Linked DNA regions of Homo sapiens: all the other regions are linked to region 1. The links are contacts of gene promoters, found by promoter capture Hi-C in human tissues and cell types (Jung and others, 2019). All regions are on one chromosome and are shown on one strand. Each heading gives the region's core, a stretch centred on a gene start or on the middle of the fragment in contact. The rest is flanking DNA. Distances are from core to core; before and after follow the strand shown.

Region 1 (3,738 bases), core at 1-2,500:
AGGGGGGTGCAGCAGGCAGCGTGATCCCGAAGGGGAGGGGTGTGGGTGCACAGAACCAGAAGGACAGGGACAGCGGGAGAGACAGAGGGAAAGACAGGGAGGGAGAGAGAGAAAGAGAAAGAGTTAGCCATTCGTGCGCCACGCCGTGCCGCGCGCCCCGGGTACCTTGGCGGCGGCCTCTTCGGCGGCCAGGAGGCTGTCCTCCGCCTTGTGCAGCTCCTCCAGCACCCGGTCCCGCTCGTCCTCCGACACCCGCAGCAACTTCTCCTTGGCCGCGATGTCCTCCTCGAGCTGGGGGCAGCGGCGGGCGGGCGCGGGCGGCCGGCACGGACCGGGTGTTAGACACACACAACACACGGGCGTCGGGTTGGCTGGGGCCCCTCGGGCTCGGGGCGCCGCCGAGTTGGAGTGCAAAGGACCCGAGGTAACTTCCTCTTTACCCGAGCTGGAACCGCTCCGCGGCTCACCCCGCACACCCACCTGCCCTGGGACGAGACTCCTGCCGAGGTCTCAGCGGGCTCAAGTCCACTACTTGGGGACACAGAAGAACGCCACTGCTGGCCTGGCTTTCGGGCTGTAGCCTCCATTCCGCCCCATCTTTGTTCTTAGGTAACAACTCCAGGACTCCCTTCTCCTCCCCAAGTTTAAGGTTCCTTTCTCCCCAGTCAAAAGTCAACGAACTTCTAACACTTGAGTTACTCGACCCCCTTTCTCCATCCCTCGCCCTTCCTTCAAACGTCCCCAGGAACCGGGTGTCCTCCTCCCTCCCCCAAACTGATTCCCAGTCCTGAGAATAAAGCGCCTCTAGGACTTGATTTCGCGGGCCATGGGAACCAGAGAAGGGAAATAAGCGTCCTCAGACCAGACTAAGTTAGACTAAGCCTGGCTCTTGCGTTTCCCTTCCTTCTTTCCAGACGCGCGCCCTGGCCGCCCTGGGTGGTGGTGGGGGTAGGGTGGTGGCTCCCCGAGTCCTCGGGGTGGGGATCCAGCCGGGGGTGCCAGGCTCGAGTCCCGGCGCTCTGGGCGCGGGCGCAGGGCCGGGGAGGCGCAGACCTGCTTGCTCCTGTCTTCCGCCGCCTTCTTGTCGGCCTCCGCCTGCTCAGCTCGATCCAAGGCGTTCTCCTTGTCGAGCTTCAGCATCTGCATCTTCTTCTTGATGGCGTCCATGGTGGCGGCGGCGAGGGGCCCTGGGGCTGCAGCAGGAGCGGCGGGGCGAGCGCGCGGTCGGGCGGAGGAGCGGGAGTGCGAGCGCGGAGCCGCCTGCTTCTCCCAGATATGTACTTTCCCAAGGGGGCGACCGCATTCCTCAAGACAGCCAATACTTTTTTGGAAAAGCTTTTTTCTCCTGCCCCCCTTCCTCCTCTCCTCCCTCCGCCCCGTGCCCCCTCCCCGCTCCTCCCGCGGGGGCCGCTCGCCCATTCGCTGCCGGCCGCCGGCCTCCCAGTTGACGGTGGATATGACTATATATGGGGACCCGAGCCGCCGAGGCGGCGGCCGGAGAGGCCGCCCTGTTTCTAAACCTGCGCGCCAGGGAGAGGGCGTTGGGGCCGAGCCGGGGCCGAGGCGCAACCCTCCGCCCTCCGCGTGCCCTTCTCCCAGGGCCGGCACCCAGCCATTAGGGTCCCCAACCGAGCCCGCCCTGAGCTGCCGGAGGCCGGGAGAGCGCGGACCAGGTGGTGGATGCGCGTCGCCCCCCTGTGCCGTCCCCCGGCGCGCTTAGCCAAAGGCCCGGGGGCTTCCCAGCCGTGCTGCACCCCGCGTCAGGGTCAGTGCGCTCTCGGCACCCGCCAGCGCCTCCCCGGCAGCTCTCAGCCAGCCAGGTGTCATCCTGCGCGCTCACGCTCTGGAAACTCAACTGCAGCAGAGAAAGGGAGAACGTGGGAGAAAGCCTGGGGCGGCTCTTGAGACTTTCTCTGCGGGCGCGGGTCAGAGAGGCAGGGGGCGGCACAGCGACAGCACACGGAGTCTTGTTTTCTGCCTGCCCTTTCCCCCAGCGGAGGGACAGTCAAATACTTTAGGGACACAGGACTCAGTGGCGTACTTCTGTGCTTGCTGTGCAGTGCCTCCAAAAAGGTGTGCATGTGTGCGTGTGTGTGCGGGTGGCAGTCTAAGGGGAAAGAACATTGAGTTTAGACTCAGGCAATTTGGTCTGTGGTCTCTACTCTGCCACCAGCAACTGTGAGACCTTGTTTGCTGCCCGCGGCTTCCTCAACTTTAAATCCAGCGGGTAGATAATCCCCGAGGTCCCTCCAGATATAACTTGTTATCATTTTTCTTGCACTGATTTTAGGGAGTCGGCCTTCCATGTTAGATGCTTAGGTGCCAGGTTTCGGAAAACATGGGATCGGCGTTAACCTGGCTAAGTCATTGCATCCGCAGCCGCAACTCTGAGGAGGCTCTGCCGTGTGAGCTGTGCTTGGAAGGAGGAGGATTTCCCCCAACACTTCTTATTTTTAACTACTCCTCCCATCTCCCAAGGGGGAAAGGCTGCTTTTTTTCAGAGCTTCAGTGGGAGGGGAGGAGAGGGGGCTGCCCCCAAGCCCTGAGATCAGCTGAGGCAGGGTTGGTGAGGGTCTTGTTAATAGTCCCCACAGAATAATTCACAGTCTGTACTGCATGGTTACCAAATATTCCCCGGACGGTATCTGAGCAGATTAGGCAGGCCAAACAACTTGTAAGTCCTTCAGAGAATGATCAAATTCCTCTCCAAGATTTTATCGGGTTTCTTCCACTAACCTAACTGCCCAGGAGGGAAAAGATACACTGACCTAATGGTCAGAACATTAGATCTGACCATTAGCATAGGGGCTGCGTGGCACAGAAATTGACCAGAGCCCTTTAATCACGGTGTGTCAACCCAGCCACCGGAACAGTGACAAAGTTCCAGGCATGTGGACGATATCCAGATGCGTGGACTCCAGGGAGCTGACTCCCCAGGTTGGAGCTCAGCAGAGGAGGCAAGAATAGGGAGTTAGGAGTCAGTTCCAGGGATCCAGACCTGGCCTGGTCACTTCCTTGCAGTGTGACCTTAGCCATGTTACAATCTCTCTAAGCCTTTTTTCTCACTTATAAAAAGAGGCAACTGAACTAGAGAAACTCCTTGCGGGACCACATGTTACTGACTTTTCTTTTCTTACTGTGCCATATGTAGCCGAGGGACTCATTAAAGTTTCCTTAAATGAAATCATGCTACAAGCAATTTATTAAACACACGGTTGTTGAGTACCTGCTATATACTAGGCAGGTACTAGGCTCTGGAATCCAAAGAATGAGTAGCACAGGTCTATGTCCTCCAGGTGTTTGGCATGAGAAAGGTGTTAAGAATTCACACGAGGAAGAAATAGAAATGACTAGGTCAGAGCAGATGGGAAAAAATTCTCTGAAAAGGTGATGGCTTTTAAACTGATTTTAAAGGAAGGGTAGCAGTTAGCTAGAGAGGAGGGCCGTTGTATGCGCCAAGGAAAGAAAAAGGAATGTTTGGTGGTGGTTGGACAGTAGGATTTTGGGGGTGAATGGGGGCATGAGACTGGAAAGGAAGCTTGGGGCTGTATGATAAAGGGCCTTGAATTCCAGATTCAGACATTCAGACCTTATTGTGTAGTTTAAAGCCATCGATGTCTCTTCTTTTCACCTCTTCCTCTCCCAGACTCCCTCACCTAGGGCCTATATTCAGAGGTCGAAGCCTATGGTGTCAAAGTATGGAAATGGAGCTATACAACGCTAACTTTTAAAATCCCT
Region 2 (3,738 bases), core at 611-3,110, 480 kb after region 1:
CATTTAATACTAGGTGAGATAACAACTCAAAACGTGAACGCAGGGTGCTCCAGGGATCTAACAGACTCAGGGACAGTCCAGGAAGGAAAAGGACAGGGAGCTTTCGTGAGGAGAGCATGTTAAAATCTGAAGATGGGAAAAAAAGGAAAGAAAAAGTGGGGTAGGGAGCAGGATACTGCAAGAGGAAGCAGCAGGGAGAATTCCTCAGTGGCTCAACTGGCTGGGCCCAGGGAGTCGGAAAGGGAAGGAGGCCAGGGTGGGGTCTGAAGACCAAGGACAGCAGCAGGCGATCAGGCACAGTGGCAAGGGATGATACACCTTTTGCGGAAAAAAAAAGAGAGAGAGACAGACTTTCCTCAACTCCATAGAAAGCGCTTGGCTCATTAGTGCTTGGAAATGTTCGCAATTGTGACTGGAAGGTCAGGCTCCTGCACTAGCTTTCTGTTCAGTAATGCAAGAGAAGGGCGGAGAAGTTAGCCACAGGAGTCCCTAAAGGACTTCAGCATAAGGTAAACTCACCTGTAAAATGGCCCCAAGGCAGAGACCCTAAAGAAGGCATCTTAATTATTCCGCATAGGGCCCTCAGCTCCTCTCGCGAAGGCGTTAGCTGTTAAGGAGGGAGCTTGAGGAAATGAAGACACACCCGCTGAGGAGGGGCCTCGGCGGGGTGTGTTACATTCCTTTGAAAACAGGCCCTTTGCTATAATTTGTGTAATCAGACCAGAGATTGGACTGTAGAACCCTGCTTCCCATTTATTACAATATCACGCTTCTGCCCAGGAAACCCCACCCAAGCTTTTGTTTGGAATTCCTTTCCTTGATTAGGTGCAAGTCCTATTATTCCCGCCACTCAAAATAACACATGGGTCTAATGAAGTCGCAAGGCACAGCCCTGCCAGAAACCTGACTTTCCTGAATGGGGCTAGTTCTCTTTCTTCCGTCTTGTTTTGGAATAATGATTTCTTTTCCCTTTCCTTCTGTGTAGAGGAAGAATGGGAAGCAGCGACATTCTGTACAAATGGAAAGGCAAATCATTTTTTCCCTCTGGAAAGAGCCACGCAAGTGGGCACCACTCTTTAGGCTGTGTCTGCAGCACCCTCGTTGCCTCCTGGCTCCAGCTGCCTCGGTTGCAGTTCTGCACACTCGATGAGTGGAAAGGGGTGACACACTGTCCTCAAGTCTCATCACCTGCAGAGCTGCCCTCCTCTCTGACAGCCTTCATTATGCAATTCAGGCAGAGTCCACCCTGCAAAGAAGGGCTGAGGAGCAGGGCAGGGGCATCGTCCAGACAGGTGAAGACATACTTTAGAATGCCTGGTAATTCTTAACCAAAGACAGGAGGCACAGAAAAATTTCACATCAAAACATGGGGTATTGGCCAGGCATGATGGCTCACGCCTGTAATCCCAGCACTTTGGGAGGCCAGGCGCGCGGATCACTTGAGGTCAAGAGTTCGAGACCAGCCCGGCCAATATGATGAAACCCTGTCTCTACTAAAAATACAAAAATTAGCTGGGCATGGTGGCGGGTGCCTGTAATCCCAGCTAGGCGGGCCCACTTAGGTGGCTCCATCTACTTCTAGAGAACATGACTTCCATACCCCAAGACTCCACCCCAGCCTGGGTCATTGCCACTTGGGAGGCTGAGGCAGCAGAATCACTTGAACCCGGGAGGTGGAGGTTGCAGTGAGCCAAGATACCGCCACCGCACTCCAGCCTGGGTGGCAGAGCGTGACTCTGTCTCAAAAAAACAAACAAAAAAACACGGAGTATTAGAATTGGAAAATAGGATGAATCATTTTCTCTAGCAAATACTTAAATAATGTAAGAGATGTGTTTTGTGGTCTGCCCAGCCCAAAGGAGCTGCCTTTGGTCCCCAGGGACCTGCCCTACCTTCCCACTTTCCCGAAGCCATCTAGGCAGGGGTAGAGCCCTGACCCTATGGCAGTTAATCCATTTCCAGGCCAGGGATCTAATACTGGTGTGGTCTCGGTCAAATAGGCCAATTCTGGCCAGTGGAATTCTTCCTGGTAACTGAGCCATTCTATTTGGTGGAACTCTAGTTCAGTGGTTGGAAGATTACGAAGTCACAAAGATTAGGACAGCCACAGAAGGTTACTGGAAACTGGGAGGTAATAATGACCTTGCAAGTTCATCTGGATAATAAGATAAAGCACACCCCCCCACCAAAAGAGGGACCAGGTACGTGGGAGCCCAGGAGAGCACCTTCAGTGCCTCAGTCCCCAGTTCTGGTGATCCCCAAGGCCCTTTGTTTCCAAAAGCATACAGGAAACTTCCTTGTTTACCAAATTGGTATGAATGGGTTTCCATTGCCACCAAAGAGCCTTGCCTAAAATAAGCACTCAGTATATGTCAGGTGCTATGGCAACAGTGCTACCTCAGAGCTAGTGTGGAAGACCAAACCCTCTATTAGATAGTTGCAGAATAGGTGGCACGAGCACAAGAAAGTGCTAGTGATATAATGCACATGGTCTGGCTAAAGAATAAAGAGCACAGCTCACTCTGAGCCAAACAAAGCTGCTTAGAAGAGACAGTTCTCCAATTTGGCCATGAAGAGTAGGAAGGGTGTAGCTGAACATTGGGGACAACATTGATAATCCCACCATGAAACAAGGCTTCCTTACCACAATTCCTCTAGGCTCAGTCCACATCCGCTGGCCTCAGTTACTTAGATTGTAGCCCACGCAGAACTGGGAGAGGTTTTCTTGGCAAGCTCTCCCGCCTCAATTTTCGGTGATCCTAGTAAAATGCAGCAATCCCCAGAAGAGGCTATTTAGAGCTCTCTTAACAACTCGCCTGCACACTGAGAGTCAAGAGGGAAGTCAGGCTGCTGGAGGACTCCTCCCTCTGAATTTCTCCTCTCCTGCCTTCTCAGTGACATCACTAGCTGAAGGGAAAGTGGATGTTCATTCACAGGGGTTTGAAGAGAATCAGGAATGTGGGAGACCAGAATAGGCCACCCCAAAATATGAAGGATTATTGGGCTGAAGACAATTAAGAAGAAGCAAATGCAGGAAAGCTTCTCTGCTCTCCCTGTATCTGCCTAAAAGCAGGATATGTGTTTACAAAGAAGAAAGGTATCCTGCCCCCTCTTTTATCAGGGAGAACAAAGGTTAACCACCGCAGACAGCTTTAGATGCTTCTCACTTCTCTGCCTGGAGATGGTACCAGAGGGAACTACGTGAACAAACTTTGCTAACTAGCCGTTATCTGCAGTTACTTATCTTCCCCCAACCTGCTGCCCATAGAGGCTCAAAATCCTTTTCCTTAGTGTTGTCACTTCTCTAAAAACCTACTGTTCTTTGTTGAAGATGCTATATAAGCTAGAATTCAAAGCCACCTCTCTTTGAGAACTACTCATTCCCTGGGTATCTTCCACGTATATATAAAATATACATGTCAATAATTTGGTTTTTCTCTTGTTAAATCTGTCTTTTGTTACAGGGGGTCTGTTCCAACTAAGAACGGGGTCTGTTCCAATTAAGAATCTATGAAGGTTGAAGAAGAAAATGATTTTTCTTCTTCTATAGGAACTACATCCTGAACATATGTGGTAGGTGCTCAGGAGTAATGGTGGGAGCAGGAATGCAAAACAAAATAAATAAGATACAAGCAGGTCCTTAAGAAGCTCACCATTTACTAGAGGAAATAAGACATGCACACAACTGACCCAAACACATGCCTACACATTCGAAATCCTATAATATCTACATCAGAT
Region 3 (3,738 bases), core at 594-3,093, 390 kb before region 1:
TGCGCAGTGTGTTTCCTAGAGTTGTACGCATGCTCACTTGAGATGTTCTCCCCTTTCCAGTCAAGTGTTCCTATAAGGTCATATACCAGTGAAACTCCACCATTTTGCCTTTGAGCTCACATGTGTGAGCCCACTCACCCAATTCCTGATCTTATCAGGAAGCTACTGATCACTTGTTTCAGGTTTTTTCCTATCTATAGGGAGACTGCCTTTCCCTGGAGCTGGCTGTGACGGATGATTCCTTAAGAGAAACTGTTAACAACCGCCCGACCATCACCTAATGTTCGCCTGACATTCCTGGTGGTGAGGCGGGGGTGGCTCTCTCCTCCTGTTTATGCCTGACTAGCTGCCCACTGTAACACAAAGACACAGAAACATACAAATGCATCTCAGTAGGACCAGAAAGCAGGGTCTGAGTGTAGAGTGTGACTGGGAGGGGGGACTGTTTTACATGGGGAAGGGGGGATCGGAGTAGGCCTCTCTGAGCAGGTGACATTTGAACAGAGGCCCCAAAGGAGTGAAGGAGCCAGGTGGGTACTGGAGAGAGAAACAGCGTTGGGCAGAAGGGTGTGAAATGAGTGAGGGGAGGGTGGTGGAAATGAGGACGGGGAGGTAGCCAGGGTCCAGACTGTAACTGCTTGAGGGGTTCTTCCTGCTCACTGCATAAACAAAGACCACAGCATTGTAGTAGAGAAAGAGTATGATAGACACAAGCCTGACCACGCCATGTGGGAGATGGAATCTGGACTCAAATCGTGTGAAGCTTCTAAGTTAGGGGTTTTTCAAAGGCAGTTTGGGGGAAGACCAGGTAATAGGTGCTTACTGCTGATTTGTTGGGGTGGAAATGAAATCAGTGGGGGTCAAAGCTGTCCTTTGAAAGGCTGAATCACTCCTGGGTGGGGCCACAGGAGTGGAGTTGGCAGTCCAGATGGAGCCATGGGTGTCAGACATGGATAAAGCCTGGAAAGATATCTGAAAAGGCCAATCTACAATAGTGGTGTTATTTGCAGGACTAATTGGGCAAGCTGCATATCTTATAACCTCCCGAATAATGGCTGACAATGTTTATATCCGCACCTTAGCGGGATTCAGGCTTCTCTCCTCCCCCAAGCCTGATGGCCTCCCATTAGCTTTACAAAAGCAGTTGAGTTTGGCACAAGGCCTATTATTTACACTGTAGCCTAAATGTCTTCCAAATTTAGCTCAGCCCAACAGTCCAGGAATAATTAAAGGAAAGGCAAGATTGGGGGAGGTTTAGCTTAGCTTACTGTTATAATTTTTCTCACTGATATAATTTTTGCAAAGGCGGTTTCCAGATGACCTGGGGCCTCATTGGTTGTGGTGAGGACTTTGGATTTTACATATGGTGATGGGCTATTGTTGGAGGGTTCGAAGTAGGACAGTGATATAATATGACATCCACAGGGAGGGAGTCATTGGGACTGCCAAGCTGAGAATGGACTGGAGGAGGCCAGACTGGATGCCTGGAGGTGCATCGGGAGGTTGCTGCAAACACCCAGGCCAGGGACGCCTGCGGTGTGCACTCAGTCACGTGTTCTCAACCAGACTGTAGGGAGTTTGTGTACTTCTAAGTGGAGGAATATGTATGTGGGTGTATGAGTGTGTGTGTTTATGTGCTTCTAAGTGGGGGTTGTGTGTGTGTGTGTGTGTGTGTGTGTGTGTGTGTGTGTGTGTGTGTATGTAAGACTATTTTCATGAACCTCTAACTAGGGTGAGTTTGGCTCTGTTGCCCAGGCCGGAGTGCAGTGGCAGGATCCTGGCTCGTTGTAACCTCCGCCCCGTCCCTGGGTTCAAGTGATTCTCATGCCTCAGCCTCCTGAGTAGCTGGGATTATAGGTGTGCATCACCACGCCTGGCTAATTTTTATATTTTTAGTAGAAACAGGGTTTTGCCATGTTGGCCAGGCTGGTCTTGAACTCCTGGCCTCAAGTGATTCGCTCGCCTGAGCTTCCCAAAGTGCTGGGATTACAGGCACGAGCCACTGCACCCGGCCTCTAACTAGGTTTTAGCACTCTTTTCAATGATAAATGTAGGCAACAAACTACAATAATATGAGCAGTGCCTGGGACTTTGTCACCACTAGAAATCACAGATGTTTTTATATCACATTACATCCAGTCCCTGCAGCTCTCTGGAAATATTGCTTATACTTATCACTACTTTGGAATTATAATAGTTATTAGACTTGCCACCAGATCTTTTTATTTAATGTGGTAATAACAAAGCACATACATTAATATCTCATAAATCTATTCTTTAAAATATTTTGGTAAATAGATGTTAATATGATTGGTTTCCTTTATAATTCTCTGTATGTTATTTTTTGCATTTAAAAATATTATTTTCATAAAGCGGTGGCAGGAGTTATGTGGACATAGTGTATGTGGCGAGAAAGGGTCAGGTTCTGGATGTGTTTTGCAGGTAAAGCTGGCAGGACTTGCAGATGGATTAAAAGTGTGGAGCAGGAGAGGAGGGGAGCGGAGTTAGGCCTCCTGGGTCTTTGGCCTGAGCAGGTGGATGCAAACCAATGGTGTCACAGAGAAGAGGCAGATGAGGGGAGGAGCAGGTTTCGGGGGCAGGAAATGGAAAGCTTCATTTTTGCATGTTGACTATTGTAAAATGAGGAATGATGATTGTGCTAGGAAGAAATCATGTTTATAAAGCTCCCGACACGTAGTAGAGCCCAGTGGTAGCTGTGATTGGTAACTTGCCCCAGATCAAGAAAGCGGCAGCAGTGAGATGGGAGCTGGGTCTCAAGAGCAGGGTCTAGTAGACAGTCGTATGTATGAATCTAGAATCCGGTCGTATATATGAATCACACTTGATTCACATATATCATGTGTGATATGATTGCAACTTAGCAAAGTGTGTATGTGTGTGAGCAAGGTCTGGAAAATGAATTAATGAAAATGAAAATAGTGGTGTTAGGTTGTTAGGAGGCTTCAGTCTACAGATGTTATTTAAAGCTTTAGGTCTAGATACAGTAAATATTAATGCACCCATTTTCTAGAATTGAGGCTCAGAACCACAAAACCCATTTGTTACCTATCATGGGCAGAGACAATTCCTTCAGCCTGGTCTTCTGCTACTAGTGTTCCCTCTTTGCTTCACCAGGCTGAAAATAACCTAGTGTGGTGGGCTAAGACCCTCCTATAAGGACGACTGCAAAGACGAATTATCCGGCAGAAGCCTCCCTGTGCTAAATCTGGCACCACAAAGAAGAAATACACAACGCTTCCTTCCATGTTGACAAGTGGAACAACTTTCTCCTAATTTGGATCCCTGTGTGCCTGCGGAGCCCATGGTCACTTCATATTCAATGCTGAAATTGAACTGCTCCAGCCACAGTACATTTCAGGCAGAGATTACTTTAGAAAGGTGGTAATTAGCTGCACAGCCAGAGATGTTCTCATATACGACTGCTCACATTGACACTAAACCTCAAACACTGTTTACCAGAAGCACAAGGGTGGTTAGTAATTTTCTCTCAGACACTAACGCCAGGAGCAGTCGTGACCAAAGTGACTGACTGGGCCTCGGTTTCCTTACCTGTGAACCAAACAGGTTCAATGAGGTGTAGTGAACATCCCAGAGGCTCTAAAGTCAGGTTTCAATTTTCTCTGAACTTGCTTGGTCTTGTGTGGGTGCCCTGCAATTCTGGGGAAGGTCCTCATCCAGGGAGGAGGGAGAGTTCCAGGTGAGGGCATCAGGCTTTCT
Region 4 (3,738 bases), core at 902-3,401, 360 kb after region 1:
ACTCCACGCTGGCTCTCCCAGGCCAGAGAAACCCAATGGGCAAGAATCTGGTCTTTCTCCTGTCCCCACAATATCACTCAAGGCCACGCTAGTGCTCTCCTTGCCCTCTGCCAGTCCCTACCAGTGTGAAGCTCTTGGGTGAGGCTGCCCAGCGCTTGACGGTGGTGAGGGGCCACTCCTGCAGCACTTCCTTGGTCTTCTCATCCACGCGCATCACCGAGTCTTTGGTGATCCCCAGCAGGCGAGGCACCAGCTTGTTCTTGCCTTTCATCTTCTCCTGAAACAGGAGATACCAAGAGTCAGTGCTCTTCTTCTGAATACATCTGACTTTGCCAGGGAATCAGTGATTTTTTGACCTTTCACCTGCATACACTGTCTTTCAAAACAGGTAGGGCTATAGGGAAACCAAGATTTTGAGGCTAGGTGAATAACTCATTAAACTAAAGGCATGGGAACTCAAACAAAGACATGAGAAGACTGGAAAGAGCCACAAAATCATGCCCCCTGTTCAGGAGAGCAGCTTGCTCCAAAAACAGACGATGCCAGAAAGATGGGATAGAACTGAAAAGACATCCAGAGAAAAACAAGCAAAGGTGAATTCCAGGTACTATCACTCCCAGTGGCCAACTCAGTGAGTAACAAACAAGGGTTAATCTGAGATTTAAAATTAACTTAACTAAAACTCTGTCAAAGTAGAATCTTCTCATTATGAGGAGACACAGCTTCCTGCCCTTTTTTTTAAATCTCTGAAATATATTTCTGTTTGGATTCTTTGTTTTGGAATTTTGTATATCTACTGATTCTTAAAACTTATTTTATAACTAGTTTTAATAATGTTTTAAGATATAGTAATGTCTATTAAAATAATGGAACCCTAGCTCACACTCATACCAAAACAAATTAAAGACAGAGACAGATTAATAATTTAGGAAGAACATCCAAGTGGATATTTTTGTGATCCTTGGGTGACAAATGATTTCCTAAGAAAAACACCAACATAAGAAGCCATAAAGGAAACGATTAATATGCTTAACTCAAAATATACATACTTTTGATAGACCAGGGGGAGGAGAGCAGAAGCTAAAGAAACCTCATAAAAAATGAAAAAGACTGGGCAATAAATATTTACAATGAATGTAATGGCAATAGACTTCATATACTGTCTATGTGATGTGTTCATAAATCAACAAAATAACTGCTGAAGAATATGAACAGAAAATGTTTTTAAAATAAATAAGCAAATAAGTTTTCACTTAAAATAGCTAAGGTTTCTTATTAAAATTAATACTCAGATTTGAGGAAGATGTGAAGCGGGTCACTAGTGATGAAAGCTTAAGATAGCAAAGCCTTCATGGGGGAAAATGTGTCACTATCTATCCAAACCCTTAAAAAGTCCTTACTTTTGACACAGCTAGCTTTGAGAAATTTAGTTTAAAAAAAAGTTATAAATGTGTGTAAAGATTATGCCACATGAAGCTCAACCACAGTACATCATAGTGAAAAGCTAGAAACCACCCAATTTTCAGACAACATTAGGCCCATTCAGGGTGGTATGGCTGTAGATGAAACAATCCAAGTTTTCAATAACACAGGACTTGATACATAAATTATGATATATCCAGATAACAGATTACCCTACATTATTAAAAATCATATTGTAGAAAAACAATTGGTTTTATGGAAGTAAATTATTCATAATATATTATTAAAAAACAGAATATAGGGCCTAATCTTAGAGGAAATAAAAATTTAAAAATAGGCCTATGTCCATTACATGAAAAAGGCACTGAACATCTCATGTGTTTTGTATTATTTTTTCATGCTTTTCCTTATTTCCAAAATTTCACTATTAAGTGTGTATTTTTAGGGCTGTCAGGAAAACCTTTTCAACTCATATTTGCTGAAACCTAGCAACAACACCTAAACTGCTATTCTCAGAGGCCTAGATATATACATTCACACAAAGTATCTATGCATTTGTGGATGTGTCTACACACACCCAACACAGGGTAATGGCACATAAAACAGAGCTGGAACATACTAGATACTTAATAAGCACCATCTGTTAATCTTCAGAGCATCTCCAAAACACTGGTATCATCATTTTTCACTTTGCAAGTGAAGAGACCAAAGCCAACAGTGGTGAGTGGTAAAGCCATAATTTGAACATAGATTTGAGTAGCTCAAAAATATCTCTGACTTCAAAAGCTGACTGTCTACTGCAGTTTACTGTCTTCTGGTGGAAGCAAAAAGAGAAAAGGCCAAATCCTACCCACCCCCAACCGCCCTCACCATGGGCATCTGGTAACCCTCAGATGGTGACAGTCACCGCACACCCCCAGCTTCCTCACGGAGGACACCATGGTATGAGGAATCTACCTGGGTGTCTGAGGAGGGGAATATTCCTCCCTGAACCTCAAGTCTTAAAAAACACTGACAAGCGTCAGATTTTTTTCAAAGAGAGGGCAGTTCCACAAGGGGTGAGATCAGTGCAGGGCAGACAATGTCAGTTAATCTACTTTGGCTTCAGGAGCCACACAGAGTTTTAGCTTGATAGGCTCTAGGCAGCTAATTTAGTCACACAGGGTTGGCACAATCCCAGCTTCTGGGACCCAGGAAGGGGACTGGAGATAAAATATGGTTTGCAGCTGCTTCCTTCATTCTTTCCCATCTGCACTGTTCCCCAGTGAGGGCTTCTGGGGTGCGGGAACACAGAATCGTGACGGATTGCCCTAATTCTTGTCAAGATCATTCCAGATTGGGAGAGGAAGCCACAGTGAACAAACAACTTACAGTGGACGCTCTATCAACAGGTCACAACTGAGGAAAAGGGGCTGAGGGAACTCAAAAAATACTGCAACTGGCAACAGAGACCACCATCAAGGGATAAAATTACTTCAGCACCTACACACAAAACGCAGAGCAGCTGGAGAAAGGTAAAGTAGCAAATGGCTGAGATCTGTGATCGTGATGCAAGGTCTTCCCCGGTGCAGAGACCTGCCTTAGAGCCTCAGTGACAGGGATGTGACGGGAGGGCCACAGGGTAATAAAGCTCCCTCTTTCCTTCCTATGCCTCAAGTCTCAGTACCCCCGAACCACTCCTTTCCGACCTTCAACTACACAGACCAGCTTCCTTTTATCTCCAGTAGACAAAGCAGGCTAAAGCAGGCACCAGTGAAGACCCATCTATCTCATATACCAACACACACAAAGAGCTGTAGCTGTGATTTTTGACGGCCATCTAGAAGCTTCTCTCTCAAGATGGTCCTGATTAGATTGTTTTTGTTTTGAAAATGTCTACAGCTTGTGTAACTCAGAGGCAGGAGAATGCAGGCATTCTACCAATGAGAGGCGGGAGAATGCAGGCATTCTACCAATGAGAGGCGGGAGAATGCAGGCATTCTACCAATGAGAGGCGGGAGAATGCAGGCATTCTACCAATGAGAGGCGGGAGAATGCAGGCATTCTACCAATGAGAGGCGGGAGAATGCAGGCATTCTACCAATGAGAGGCAGGATTCGCTAATAAACCCAAGCCCTCCTCTTTCAAACGTATTTCAGCTAAAACTACGGGTTCAGCCCTGGCAGCCAGCTGTGATCAAGACTGCTGTCTGCAGGCTCTTTTCACTGGTGTAGAGATTGCCTGATTCTGCATCACCTCTGCCTCACATCTGAGATCCAGAACTGGATGGAGGAATGCAACTGGACTGAGCTTCTGGCTCCTGGACCCTCACTTCAA
Region 5 (3,738 bases), core at 374-2,873, 310 kb after region 1:
CTGTTAGAACATATAAGATCTACGTGAAAAATACGCAAATCAGTGTCTCTCTCGCACTGAACTTTTGAAATGACTGTTTTCTACAGGACTGAGCTGGAAGGTCTCTCGGCACCAGTGAGTGTAGTCTTTACCAGCCACTGCTTCAGCTGAGTCAGCACCTCCACAGCAGGTGGTCTTTTCCTCACTGAGGGTGAGGCTCTGAGATACAATAGAGTGTGAAAGGCCTCAGATCCATAAAACCAGATGGGTTTGCAGTGCTGCAGACTTGCTAATATGTAAATATTTAGTAAATCACACAGCTGGGATATAAAACTACGATCTAATCAAGGTAAATGACAAAGCTGCCAATCTATCATTTATCCCATGGCACTTCTGAGTACAGCTGGCAGAATAAAAGAATTTTAAACTAAGTGCTTTTTATGGCAGAGGAGAAGCCCAGAAGAGAAAGCACAAAGGTGAACAAAGCTAAGGTGAAGGAGAGAAACAATCTGAGGAGAATGGTCATTCCATTTTACGCTTAAGCTTTTGGCACAGGGTTGAAGGATGCTGTTGCTCAGAAAAGCGCCAGATGTAGTTAAGACCTCATCTGGCTCTGGCTCTGCTGCTGATTAGTTGTGTGGTCTAGACTGCTGCCTTTTCCCTCTGGGCCTCCCTTTCTCACGGGTTTTAGGAGAGGCTGAGTTCCTAGCTCTGACCATTGCAGATTCTAGGCTGTGATTTCTAGACCTCTCCTCTTGTCTTCCCATTTGTCATATGGACTCTTGAATCCACTTCTATTTGAGTCATATGTAAGTTTGGAGGAGTAAATCATTTATCATATGTAATTAGAAAAGACATGTTTATGCAAAACCCATTTAGTGAAAAACCTTTCATAGACTCATACAATTTAAAAAAACGCAGAAATCCGAAGAGCTAAATTCCAAGAACAACCTGGTCCATCCCATGTGTTTTCTGCTAAGGACTCACTGTGAAATCTCAAAGCACATCAAGGATCTTCTTGAGAGAGATGAGGTTTCTGGAAACAGGAAGCCCATACCATCAAAAGGACGAAAGAAGGCCACGAGAGGTCAGAAAGCCCAGTGAACACCCATGGCGGTGCATGGCTGAACGCACAGCAACATTCTCAATGGTCATCACTACAGGATCAGATCCCCAAGCAAACAACACCCACCGAATGGAACTGTTCCTGTAGTCAAAGTGTGCACCACAATACCAGAACCACCAGTGTGAAATACTAAAGCAGATTTCTGTTTCAATAACCACAGTCCTTTGAAAACACAGATTACTTTCACAGTATTCTTGCCATCTGGATCTTAAATGATACTTAGTAACAGAGTCTTATACAGGCATATCAAGTGATATCAAATATAGTAGCATTCTACATAATGGTTGCTATTCTTCACCAGAATTCATGTGGATTGTGTATCCAGACAGTATTGGGCCACATAGCAACCTCAGAAGACAAAGACCAGGTATGACACAAATCTTTTATCTGTTCCAAAGTATTTACAAAGGGTTATGTGTAATTGTAATCAGCTATACAGAAATATATTTTGAAGACTGCATTGGCCAAACAGAAACACACTTGCATTAGAATACAGCCCAGTGGCAGCTCACATGCAACTTCTGAAAACCCCACACACCTCAATTATGGACAAGGAAACTGAGACCCATGGAGAAGTTTTCCACACACGCTCTCTCTTTCCTTGCTTCCCATCCATTCTCCAACCTTCCTGAAACTGCCTTCAACAAGGAGAATAGTGATCTCCTTATTCCTAAAGCTAATGGATGCTTAAGTCTCCCATTTGACATGACTTTCTGGGCAGCAACTGTGTCTATGGCTCTAGAGACATCCCTCTCTCCTGGTTTCCCTGCCCTCTCCACAGCTCCATGTTCTTCTTTCTTTCAAAGATTTCCATTGCCAGTTTCCTCCCTAACCAGCCAGGTTCTTCAGGATTACAACTGATAAGCTGTCTCTCACTCTACCACTCCCTGTTGGCAAAATTATCTACTTCCAATCATTATCATTTTACCAATAATTTTCAAATCTGTATCATCCAGCCCAGCCTTCTCTACTGAGTTTCAGAGCCAAAGATTTAGCTGCCTAATGATGCTCTCACTGCATATTCTCCAAGCACTTCAAATGGAATATATCTAGTGCCGAACCCAGCATTCCTGAGCTTCACCTCCCCTGCTCCTACCAATGGTCCTGTGTTCCCACCAGTGATTCATACAACTCTTCACTCAGCTATAAGGCCAAACACTTGGAACCGTTCATGTTACCATCTCCACCAACTTCTAACCAGTCACCAAGAACGATTGGGTTTTTGCTTCTTCAATCGACCACTTCGTCTCCACTGTAGGACACTACCATCTCTTACCTGGATTAATGCAACAGCCTGCTTGCCTACCACTTTGTTTCCGTCCAATCCATTCTACACACAGGAGGAAGGGCGACCTATACAAAAAGCAATCTGAACTGTGTCCACAGATGAAAAACATGTTCACATATTCTTCAATTAAAGTATAACTCATTTATTTTAGCTTATGAGGCCCTTTAGGATCTGACCCTGGCCTAACTTTTCAGCGTTATCCTCTTATTTCTCACTTACTCTTTGCCTATTACTTTCACCATCTTCAGTTCCTTCCATCATCCTTCTCTCATCTTTAAGGCATCATACATGCAGTGCTCACTTATGCAACTGCCTTCCAGTGCCTGCCAAAATTAAATGGGGCTACTTCTAGGCTGTTTTTCAGACACCAACTAGACAGCATGTCTTCCTGGGTGTTATTGGTATGAGATGACGCAACATGTAAAGTAGTCTTTTCTCTACTAAATATGCATTTCATCATCTACACAACAGCTGGCAAGATTTCGGGAAAGTGTAGACATTTTTGAAATTTAAATCTCTCATATTACCCTATGATTTTCTAAGAATTTTATCATACCTTTCCTCCTCCTAGAATGCTAAAGGAGTCCTAAACAATCCACAAAGCCCTCGCTAAGTGTCAATTCTGCTCTGAAAATTTCCCCTACCTTCCCATTGGGATCAAATTTTGCATTCTTATTATTGCAGGTACTTTATATACTGTACTATAACTTTGTGTTCCTATTGTGCTCATTAAAATTTTTATTTTCAAAGTAATAAATGTATACAGTTTTTACAAATCAAAGAGGATTTTGCTTGTAGTGATGGCAGAATAACTTACTGAAAATCAGCCTTCCCACACAGAAACTCTGGAAAACATATATAAAACATTTATTTGAAGACACTGGAGAAATACCAAGGCACCAAGGTAAAGAGGGCCAAGATCTTGAAATGAAGGAGTGAGTCCAATGTTTAGGATTGCTTTTTCTCTAAAGGCATTTCCTAATTTGTAACCTATTGCCAAGAAGCTGAGTAAAGTTTCTTGATATCTCATGGGGCTAGGAAGAGAAAAAGCATAGTTCTGAGCCCAAAAAAACAGAATAGCCCTGGTAAACAGCAACCCTTTCAGACGGGACACACAAGGGCTACACCCTCAAAGGTAAAATGGAAACAGACCACACAATTTCCAATCAGCTCAGTTCCTGCATTTTTATTGTGATCTGTCCTTATCTTATCCACCTGCCAGAAGCGAAGAGTAATCCTATGTAGGGAAAAAAAACATAATTCAGGGCCTCAAACTATCTCTACAATTTAAAACAGCAATGTTCAGTCTTAAAGAAAAAAAAAGAAAACACCAGGAGACAAAACC
Region 6 (3,738 bases), core at 611-3,110, 310 kb before region 1:
TCGTTTTTTATTGCAAATACAATCCATCTTATTAAATGTGTATTCAAATTTGGTACATAATTTTTGATCATTTTCATATAGATACACATGCCTTTCATTATGGTCAGACCTCCTTACAAAACAAACTTTGAGGGACTAACCAAAAGCTATCATTGTCCTGAAATTGTGCCTATTTGTTGAAAAAGGGCGTGTCATCATCTAGAATGTGTAAACTTTGCCACTACAGTGGTATCCTTTGGGGCAAGTTTTGATCTGACTGCGTGTTGGTAGCCGGCCCAAAGAGATGTACCCTGGAGCTTGGGCCCAGGCAGGTTCTCCAGGAAGCTGCCTGCAGTGAGCACTGACACAGACACAGGGGGGTCCACCTCAGAGTATGACCTCCAAGAAGTGTCATGGGGCAGAATTAATGTTGACTCTGGTGCCTGGATCCCCCCACTGTCTTCTCATGGCTACCTTTCATCAGTGAGCCCCTCTTTCTTCTGTCTCCAACCTTCCTTCTCTGGTCTCTTTTGCCGTCTGCATAGCAGTTTGCTCAAGCCTCTTCATAAAAAACAAAAACACAGGCTGGGTGCGGTGGCTCGCGCCTGTATTCCCAGCACTTTGGGAGGCCAAGGCAGGTGGATCGCTTTAGGTCAGGAGTCTGAGACCAGCCTGGCCAACATGGCGAAACCCCATGTCGACTAAAAATATAAAAAATTAGCTGGGCGTGGAGGCACGCACCTGTAATCCCAGCTACTTGGGAGGCTGAGGCAGAAGAATTGCTTGAACCTGGGAGGCGGAGGTTGCAGTGAGCTGAGATTGCACCACTGCACTCCAGCCTTGGTGACAGAGCAAGACTCAGTCTCAAAAACAAAAACAGAAACAAAAAACAAAATCTTTCACATTACCCTCACCTTACCATAACCACCACGCATACACCCTTCTCTCATCCCTTTATGGCTAAATTTCTGAAATGAGCTTAAAAAAACCCTCCACATCCATTCAAGGATGTGTTCAGACATAAGTAGGGATATGACATAAAGTTCTGGTCTTCCAAAGGTCTTTGAAACTCATATTCTGAGCTCTAGTCTGTAATAAGTTTCTGTACTAGTCTGGCTCTAACAGTCACAGGTGAGGCAGGCTAACAATCATCACTGCTTGCTAGTGTGCACAACCCGAGTAGGCTGGCCGAGAAGTTCAAGTCAGGGACTAGAAAGCACTGGGGTAGCTTTGGCAGGACCTGAGCTGGACTTTGAAGAGTGGACGAAATTTGGAAAGGTGCAGAGGAAAGAAGAGGGCATTTGAGCAGATTTTTTCATAACGGCATTTGTGAAGGTGGGTTGGCATAGCCTGTTCTTAGGCTCAGGGAGCTGGCTGAAGCATGGGGCAGGCTGGGGCGGGATGTGGGGGCCTTTGAAGACTTTGACAGGTTGGGGCACTTCAAGGCCATGAAAAACAGCTAGGCTGTGCTTTGTCTTGTTGGGGTGGGGCAGGGCATGCTAGGGAGAAAGGGAGTGTACGGATGGGTGGTGGGGTGGTGCCACCCAAGCCAGGCTATGACAAGATTGATCTGGTTACTGCAGGAGAGCCAGCCTGGCAGTGTAACAAGGAAGGCTGGGGCTGGTTGCCTGTGGGAAGCCTTTGCAGTGTGACATGGCGAGGGCCTAACCCATGGAAGCATGGGAGTCCATGACCCACTAAGGGCAAAGGATAGACCAAGCTGGCTCTGAGATGTTGAGCCTTGGAGGAGCGGGGCCCAGGTGTTCTCTGATGAGGCATTCCACCATCAAGCTGTAATCTAGGCCATAACACATCCTCTAATTGCAATATTGCAAAAAATATATGGACTGTATGTGAACCCTGAAATTTACAAACTGTTAAAAATTTATGACCTATTTGGAAAAATTTGAATTCTAATTGGATTCGGTAATCTTAAGGTATTAATTCTTAACTCTCTAGGTGTGGTCATGGTACTGTGGTTTTAAGAGCCCTTATGTTTTAGAGAAACATATGAAATATATACAGATGAAATATATCTGGATTTGTTTCCAGTTATCCAGGTAGATAAGGGGAGAATGGGCTTAGCATAGATGAGGCAGGACTGTTTCTGAATTGTAAACTGTCCAAGCTGGGTGACATGGGGTTCATTCCACTCCTCTCTCTACATTGTATACATTTGAAATTTTCTGTAAAAACATTCTGGTCCTTGGATAATGCAGGTCCTACACCCTGGGCCTCAAAATTCCCAATCAGAAATCACGAGAGGCATTTTGAGCTGTGCCATGTTAATCTCTTGTTACCTTTCGAAACAGGAATTCTGACCACTTCTGTTTTGCCTAGAGCAGGAAAAACACATAGACAGGAAAGAAATAATGCCTTGGCTTTATTTAGAAAAACAAACTGTGAAAGACACGTGATCCTCCTGTATCACGATCATGGGAGGAGTCCAACCAACTGGAGAGGCGAAGTCAAAACTCAGAAGAGCAAAGGCAAAGTTTTAGCTGGAAATAAATGCTTCTTTTAGGAGAGTCACTCCCAGTGGAGGATTTCTGGCAGTGGAGCACTTGGCATGAGTGTGAAAGCTGACACTGAGTTGGAAAATGGTAGCCCAGGGTGTAGCGGCCAGCATAAGGCCAGCACTGTGCAGTCACATGTCACAGCTCAGGGAACAGAAAGGCCTGCTGTTGTCACCTCTGATATTGGTTGTCCCGGTGCCCACCCTCATGGCACCTCTATCTCTCACATGCCACAAAGACAGGAGGCTGCTCTGACAGTGTCCCCAGCTATGCAAGGCGGGGACACCCACTAGCCATTACATGCTGGGGGAGGGCCCTATGAACTTCCTTGGCAGGCCGTCTCCCAGGCTACAGGGCAGAAATCAGATTTCTTTTTCAATTAGTGCCCCCAAACAGAAACCATTTGCACACAGGTAAGCTAGAAAGCTAGGAGGGTACATTTTGAACCTGAGCAAGTGATCTCATTTTTCCTCCTCTTTTTTGAGGAGAAGAAATACATGAGGGAATTAAGGTGGGTGCACGTTCCCTGGGAAAGGAACAAGCATGAAACAGGTGTTGAGAGTTCAGCTTAGTAAACATGTGAGGGCCCACTCTGTGCCAGGCACTGTGGGAAGTGCAGCGATGGATGAGCCGTGGTCCTTGTCTTCAAGGACAGCGTGGGGAAGCCAGGAAATTCCAGGTGCACAAAATCTCCTGGATAAATACTGAAGGACACATAAGTCCTGTGACCCAAGCAAAGTAACTGTTACTTAGCCAAAGTCAAACTTCCGGCAAATCTCTTAAATCTCTATTTTTCACCCATAAAATGGTGCAATTCTGCCTTGCTTACCCCGTAAGGTTATAGAGTTATAAGGATCAAAGCTACTACAATATAATAACAATGAGGAGGAGGAGGAGGAGGCGAAGACAAGGCTTTCTTGACCTTGCTGACCTACAGACCTGTGACTGGTGCCCAAGGACGAACTCCGCTGTGGATGGCAGCCAGGACCAGGGCAGGTTCCTGATGCAGATGGCTGTCTGATCCCAGCCAGTCCTGGAGCACCGGTGCCCTGTGCCCTCATTCCCGAAGCTGGTTCCCCTGGGCACCTTGTCACATGCCCAGTAGCTGCCTTGACATGAGCAACCTTTCTGACTCATTCAAATTTGCCTGACAGATGGAGAAGGTGCTTAGTCCTAGTATTCTTAATAAATATCAGAGCTTAAGAGCCAGAAGGAACCTTCCAGAACATAGCTTCCACACACA
Region 7 (3,738 bases), core at 814-3,313, 290 kb after region 1:
GACAAGAGGGCACAAGGGAAGGGCTTCTCTTTGCAATTCCATTTAGATGTGTCAGCCAAATAAAAAAGAAAAAATGAATCTGTGCATAGGAATTTTGATCTTATTTCATTTCTCCTGAGATCTGAGGGGAAGGATAAAGGTAGATAATTTCATCCCCTAAACTAGTGATGTTTCTCTGTGGTTCAGTAAAATCTTCTAGGTTCAAGGTAACTGTCAAATGATGAACGCTTTAAAGTAGATGCTGACATCTTTGAAGCTTCTGTCATGGGAGGTCAATCATCATTGAAAATACAGAGGATAGTCAAAGAAGGGCAAGGAATGTGCCATATCATGTCTCTGCATGATGGCATCTTATTTTTTTCTCTCTCTGATTCTAAAAAGAGCATGACATAACAGTTTCGCATTTCTAAAGCCTTAGCAAATTTAAATTATTTAGTGCTTATTTTTCTACCCCAAACAACTCATCTATAATAAAAACTTTTAAAAGGATTGAAAAGTTGGCCTCTGAACCTATATGCTGGGTCTGTACTGAGTCTTGCCATGCTCCCCAGCCTGGCCCATGGCTGCTCTGCTCCTCGGGGGTAACTGGCTCATGTTTTGTGTAAATGCCCCAGCCAGCACAGAAGCCACTGCCTTTCCCATGGTTTCTGTGGTGGTACTTGGAGAAAGAGGTGCAGCTGGAGTTCCCCCACACCTCCCACAGGGATCTGGCACAGGGCACATGGCTGCATCGGGACTAGCCCCTTACCTGGGCTGCAGCCTCTGTCAGCCCACAGAGAGCCTTGGATGCAATCCCCACACATTCCCCAAAGGCAGGGAGGTCTCCGGTCTTGGCATTCTGTGAAATCCCTGCCATCGATTCACCCAGAACCTGCAAAACAAACGGCCAGCAACATTCTCTATCCAGCATTGCCTCAAACCAAGGGGTAAAGGAGGCTACACTCCAACTTTAATATTCAAGGCAACTTAATTTGGAACATTTGACATTTTCTCCTTTATTTGGATTAAAAAGAGATGGAAGAAAATTACATCATTTCCATTCCACAAAGAGATAAGTACAATGAAAGTATAACCCCAAAGTTATCTGTATTCCAAGCAGTTAGAGTTAATATACACAGACAATATAGTAGAGTCTATAAAAGGCAACTCATGGGTGAATGGTCTAAACTGATAACTAGTTCCCAGAATATAAAAATCATATGCATCGAGCTGTAGGTGAGGTCATAATCAGAAAGCATGATACTCACCCTTCCAGATATCATTTGTCTAGTTACTGACAGTAAAATTTAAATAGAGATCTTTGTTAAGTATGTTTCCTAAATACTGTAAGAATTTTGCCTTATTTTGAAAATCACTGGTGTGGTGTATTCTTTCTTCAGAGATCTTTACAATCACAGCTGAAAGAGATTTTAGTGTTCAGAATCCAACCCAGAGTGGTCATGCATCCTGTACAAGGTCACAGTGAAGGTCACATGGGCAGGTACAGGGTGCCCAATGTAAATTTGGTGTTCCCTCATTATGCCCCAGGAGGGCTGGTCATATTTTCCTTGGCAACAATGATGGAACTGAAGGATGTTTTACCCTGTGGAGAGACTGTGGTATTGCCAGGTCTAGAACCCAAGGCAGAGACTATTTGTCAATAAGCCATCTTGGAAGGGAACAAATTCCCTAAAATTGCTTAGATATACAAAATAATCCAGTTTACATAAGGATTTGCAAAAAAGGAACCATTTCTTTGGATCTGAGTGTGTATGCATCTTTCCCTTAGACAATCCATAATTCCATAAAAGGTACTGGATGAGGAAATTCTAGTTTTAGCCCAAATCAAACAGAGTCCTTTTGACATTACCAGCACAGATGTTTCCCCGCTAGAATAAAAGTGACCATGTTTCAGCTACAAAGCCAGATTGCAACAGCTCGACATCCATTCTTCTCCCTTGCATTTGATTTTCACCTTCTGATTTGAAGGCATTCTCAAAAGACATTGGTATGATTACTACAGAGGAGTGTTTCTCAACAGTTTTTTTTTTTATTATTGTTCCACTAAGGAGCCTTTTATGTTTTTTTTCCTAATCAAATGCCAAAGAATAAGATTTTGTTGAGTAAGGTTAAGATAGGAGCAGGGTAACAAGCCATTATATTATCTTAATTTTTTTTCAACATCTCTCCAATGTCCTACCAAAACAAAACAAAACAAAACAATTTCACCCTCCTTGAGAATGCATGCCATGAATAGACTGCAAAAGAACACATAAGAGGATCCCACGTAAGTCAAGTTACTGAAGGACTTTCCAAATCAGTTCCGGTGTAGAAAATACACGATTTGACTTACAATAAGACCCATTTGTGAAAAAAGAGAGGAAATGGTTCTCAAAGTATGGTTCCTGGACCACAGGGGCAGGACCTGGGAGATAGTCAGAAATGTAGAATCTCAGCTTCCTCTCAGACCTACTGAAACAGAAACTTGGGGGTAGGCAATCTGTATTTAACAAGCCCTCCAGGTGATTCTGATGCACCGTCAAGTTTGAGAAGCTCCTGAGCAAAGGGCTCCACAAATAGGCTTCATGCTACATGTGGCTAGCCCTGCAGACCAGCCACAGGCAGATGCACAGAAGGCACGTCTAAACTTCTCCCCACATTGACAAGCAATGCTAACTTCTGACTTACGGCATAGGCAGTCTTACCTTGGAGTTTTCCATCACACTCTCAATGCAGTCAAAGTAAGAGAGGTCACTAACAGGTTCATTAGGATTGTCCAACATCCCCTTCACAGTCTACAGAAGAAGAACACAACATAAAAAGCAAGCAAATGTCATAGAGCAAAAGAAATTCAACATCAACTGCCAACTATCAACTCTCCCTCCATACACAAGTTTCTGGTCATGATCACTTTTACTCAGATGTTTGAGAATTTACATCATGGTATCATGACTTCAGATTTCCTGTTAGCAACACAATGCTCATTATAGGGGAGGGGGTCTCTGGTTAGCTTGGCCAGAGATGAGAATCTCTTGTTTTCAGTTTTGAAGGAGAAGAAACAAGGTAAACACAGAAGGATGGCATTTAAAACATATTAGAACATTAATACAAGGCAATACATGCGTGGTCAATTAGCACAACTTCTCAGCAGGATAATTCTAAGGAGTTTAAATTTCAAAAGGCCATTCATTTCTTCATGACCAGTAAGAACCCTCAGTTTTTCCAATTTTGGAACATTTTAATAGGAAGGCATGAAAGAAGGTAATTCCCCCAAACTGTCCATTGTGATGGTTCATTTGTTTTTAATTTAAACAGTATAGAAAACGTTTCTTGTTGTTTAGGTCCTCATCAAAGAAATACATGGGTATAGGGCCTGGCTCTGTGTCTCTAAGCCACCAAAAACCATGGCTAGCTCTGTCATGGCATTGTAATGAACTTGATCACCACTTGTAAGGGACTTTTCCTGGGGATGCAGCCATTTAACCTCCTCCCCAGAGAGTGAGAATGTACATTAGGACCCAGCAATCTTTGGGACACAGCCAACAAAAAGACAGTCATTTGAGTTACAAAGGCTGGTGGGGGGCTGGGAGAGAAGGAAGGGGAACTGCTGAGCTGTTAAAGATGGGAGGGAAAGAGGGCAGTGTAAGGAATGAGCTCATTTCATTCAAGAACCTCCTCCCACTCCTTGGATATTCAAAATTGTTCTATTAACAGCAATCCTAAACTAGTCATATTTTTCAACCAAGGATATCAATAAGG

The links. The method cuts DNA at HindIII sites, captures the fragments that hold promoters and counts their contacts. A contact is called where the count stands out against the background at its distance.
Region 2: a contact is called between a fragment that was not itself captured here and the fragment with the promoter of TPM1 in region 1, in 1 of the 25 tissues and cell types used here (mesenchymal stem cells).
Region 3: a fragment that was not itself captured here is called in contact with the fragment with the promoter of TPM1 in region 1 in 1 of the 25 tissues and cell types used here (mesenchymal stem cells).
Region 4: a fragment that was not itself captured here is called in contact with the fragment with the promoter of TPM1 in region 1 in 1 of the 25 tissues and cell types used here (H1 embryonic stem cells).
Region 5: a contact is called between a fragment that was not itself captured here and the fragment with the promoter of TPM1 in region 1, in 1 of the 25 tissues and cell types used here (lymphoblastoid cells).
Region 6: a fragment that was not itself captured here is called in contact with the fragment with the promoter of TPM1 in region 1 in 1 of the 25 tissues and cell types used here (lymphoblastoid cells).
Region 7: a fragment that was not itself captured here is called in contact with the fragment with the promoter of TPM1 in region 1 in 3 of the 25 tissues and cell types used here (bladder, mesenchymal stem cells and thymus).

Annotation. Positions count from the first base shown.
Region 1 is chr15:63,040,259-63,043,996 of GRCh38, reverse strand. TPM1 (tropomyosin 1) reads right to left here and starts at 1,250. Exons shown (of 10, transcript NM_001018005.2): 1 at 1,054-1,250. The coding sequence starts at 1,167. RefSeq lists enhancers at 1-478, 1,392-2,306. The HindIII fragment of the contact is 3,976 bases long and covers 188-3,738 here.
Region 2 is chr15:62,558,264-62,562,001 of GRCh38, reverse strand. All of the region lies in intron 1 of TLN2 (talin 2), which reads right to left. Among named protein-coding and RNA genes, the nearest start is that of MGC15885, 85 kb to the left of the region's middle. The HindIII fragment of the contact is 5,903 bases long and covers 1-3,738 here.
Region 3 is chr15:63,432,221-63,435,958 of GRCh38, reverse strand. LINC02568 (long intergenic non-protein coding RNA 2568) reads right to left here. Exons shown (of 7, transcript NR_120375.1): 6 at 3,571-3,738. Among named protein-coding and RNA genes, the nearest start is that of LINC02568, 44 kb to the right of the region's middle. The HindIII fragment of the contact is 3,127 bases long and covers 280-3,406 here.
Region 4 is chr15:62,683,180-62,686,917 of GRCh38, reverse strand. It overlaps TLN2 (talin 2), which reads right to left. Exons shown (of 59, transcript NM_015059.3): 12 at 122-277. LOC105370855 (a long non-coding RNA gene) reads left to right here. Exons shown (of 5, transcript XR_007064673.1): 2 at 2,814-2,936. Among named protein-coding and RNA genes, the nearest start is that of MGC15885, 40 kb to the right of the region's middle. The HindIII fragment of the contact is 4,732 bases long and covers 1-3,738 here.
Region 5 is chr15:62,731,320-62,735,057 of GRCh38, reverse strand. The region is part of intron 28 of TLN2 (talin 2); the gene reads right to left. Among named protein-coding and RNA genes, the nearest start is that of MGC15885, 88 kb to the right of the region's middle. The HindIII fragment of the contact is 4,474 bases long and covers 1-3,738 here.
Region 6 is chr15:63,349,181-63,352,918 of GRCh38, reverse strand. The region is part of intron 2 of CA12 (carbonic anhydrase 12); the gene reads left to right. Among named protein-coding and RNA genes, the nearest start is that of CA12, 31 kb to the left of the region's middle. The HindIII fragment of the contact is 8,588 bases long and covers 1-3,738 here.
Region 7 is chr15:62,749,438-62,753,175 of GRCh38, reverse strand. TLN2 (talin 2) reads right to left here. Exons shown (of 59, transcript NM_015059.3): 34 at 2,685-2,774; 35 at 749-871. Among named protein-coding and RNA genes, the nearest start is that of MIR190A, 73 kb to the left of the region's middle. The HindIII fragment of the contact is 6,490 bases long and covers 1-3,738 here.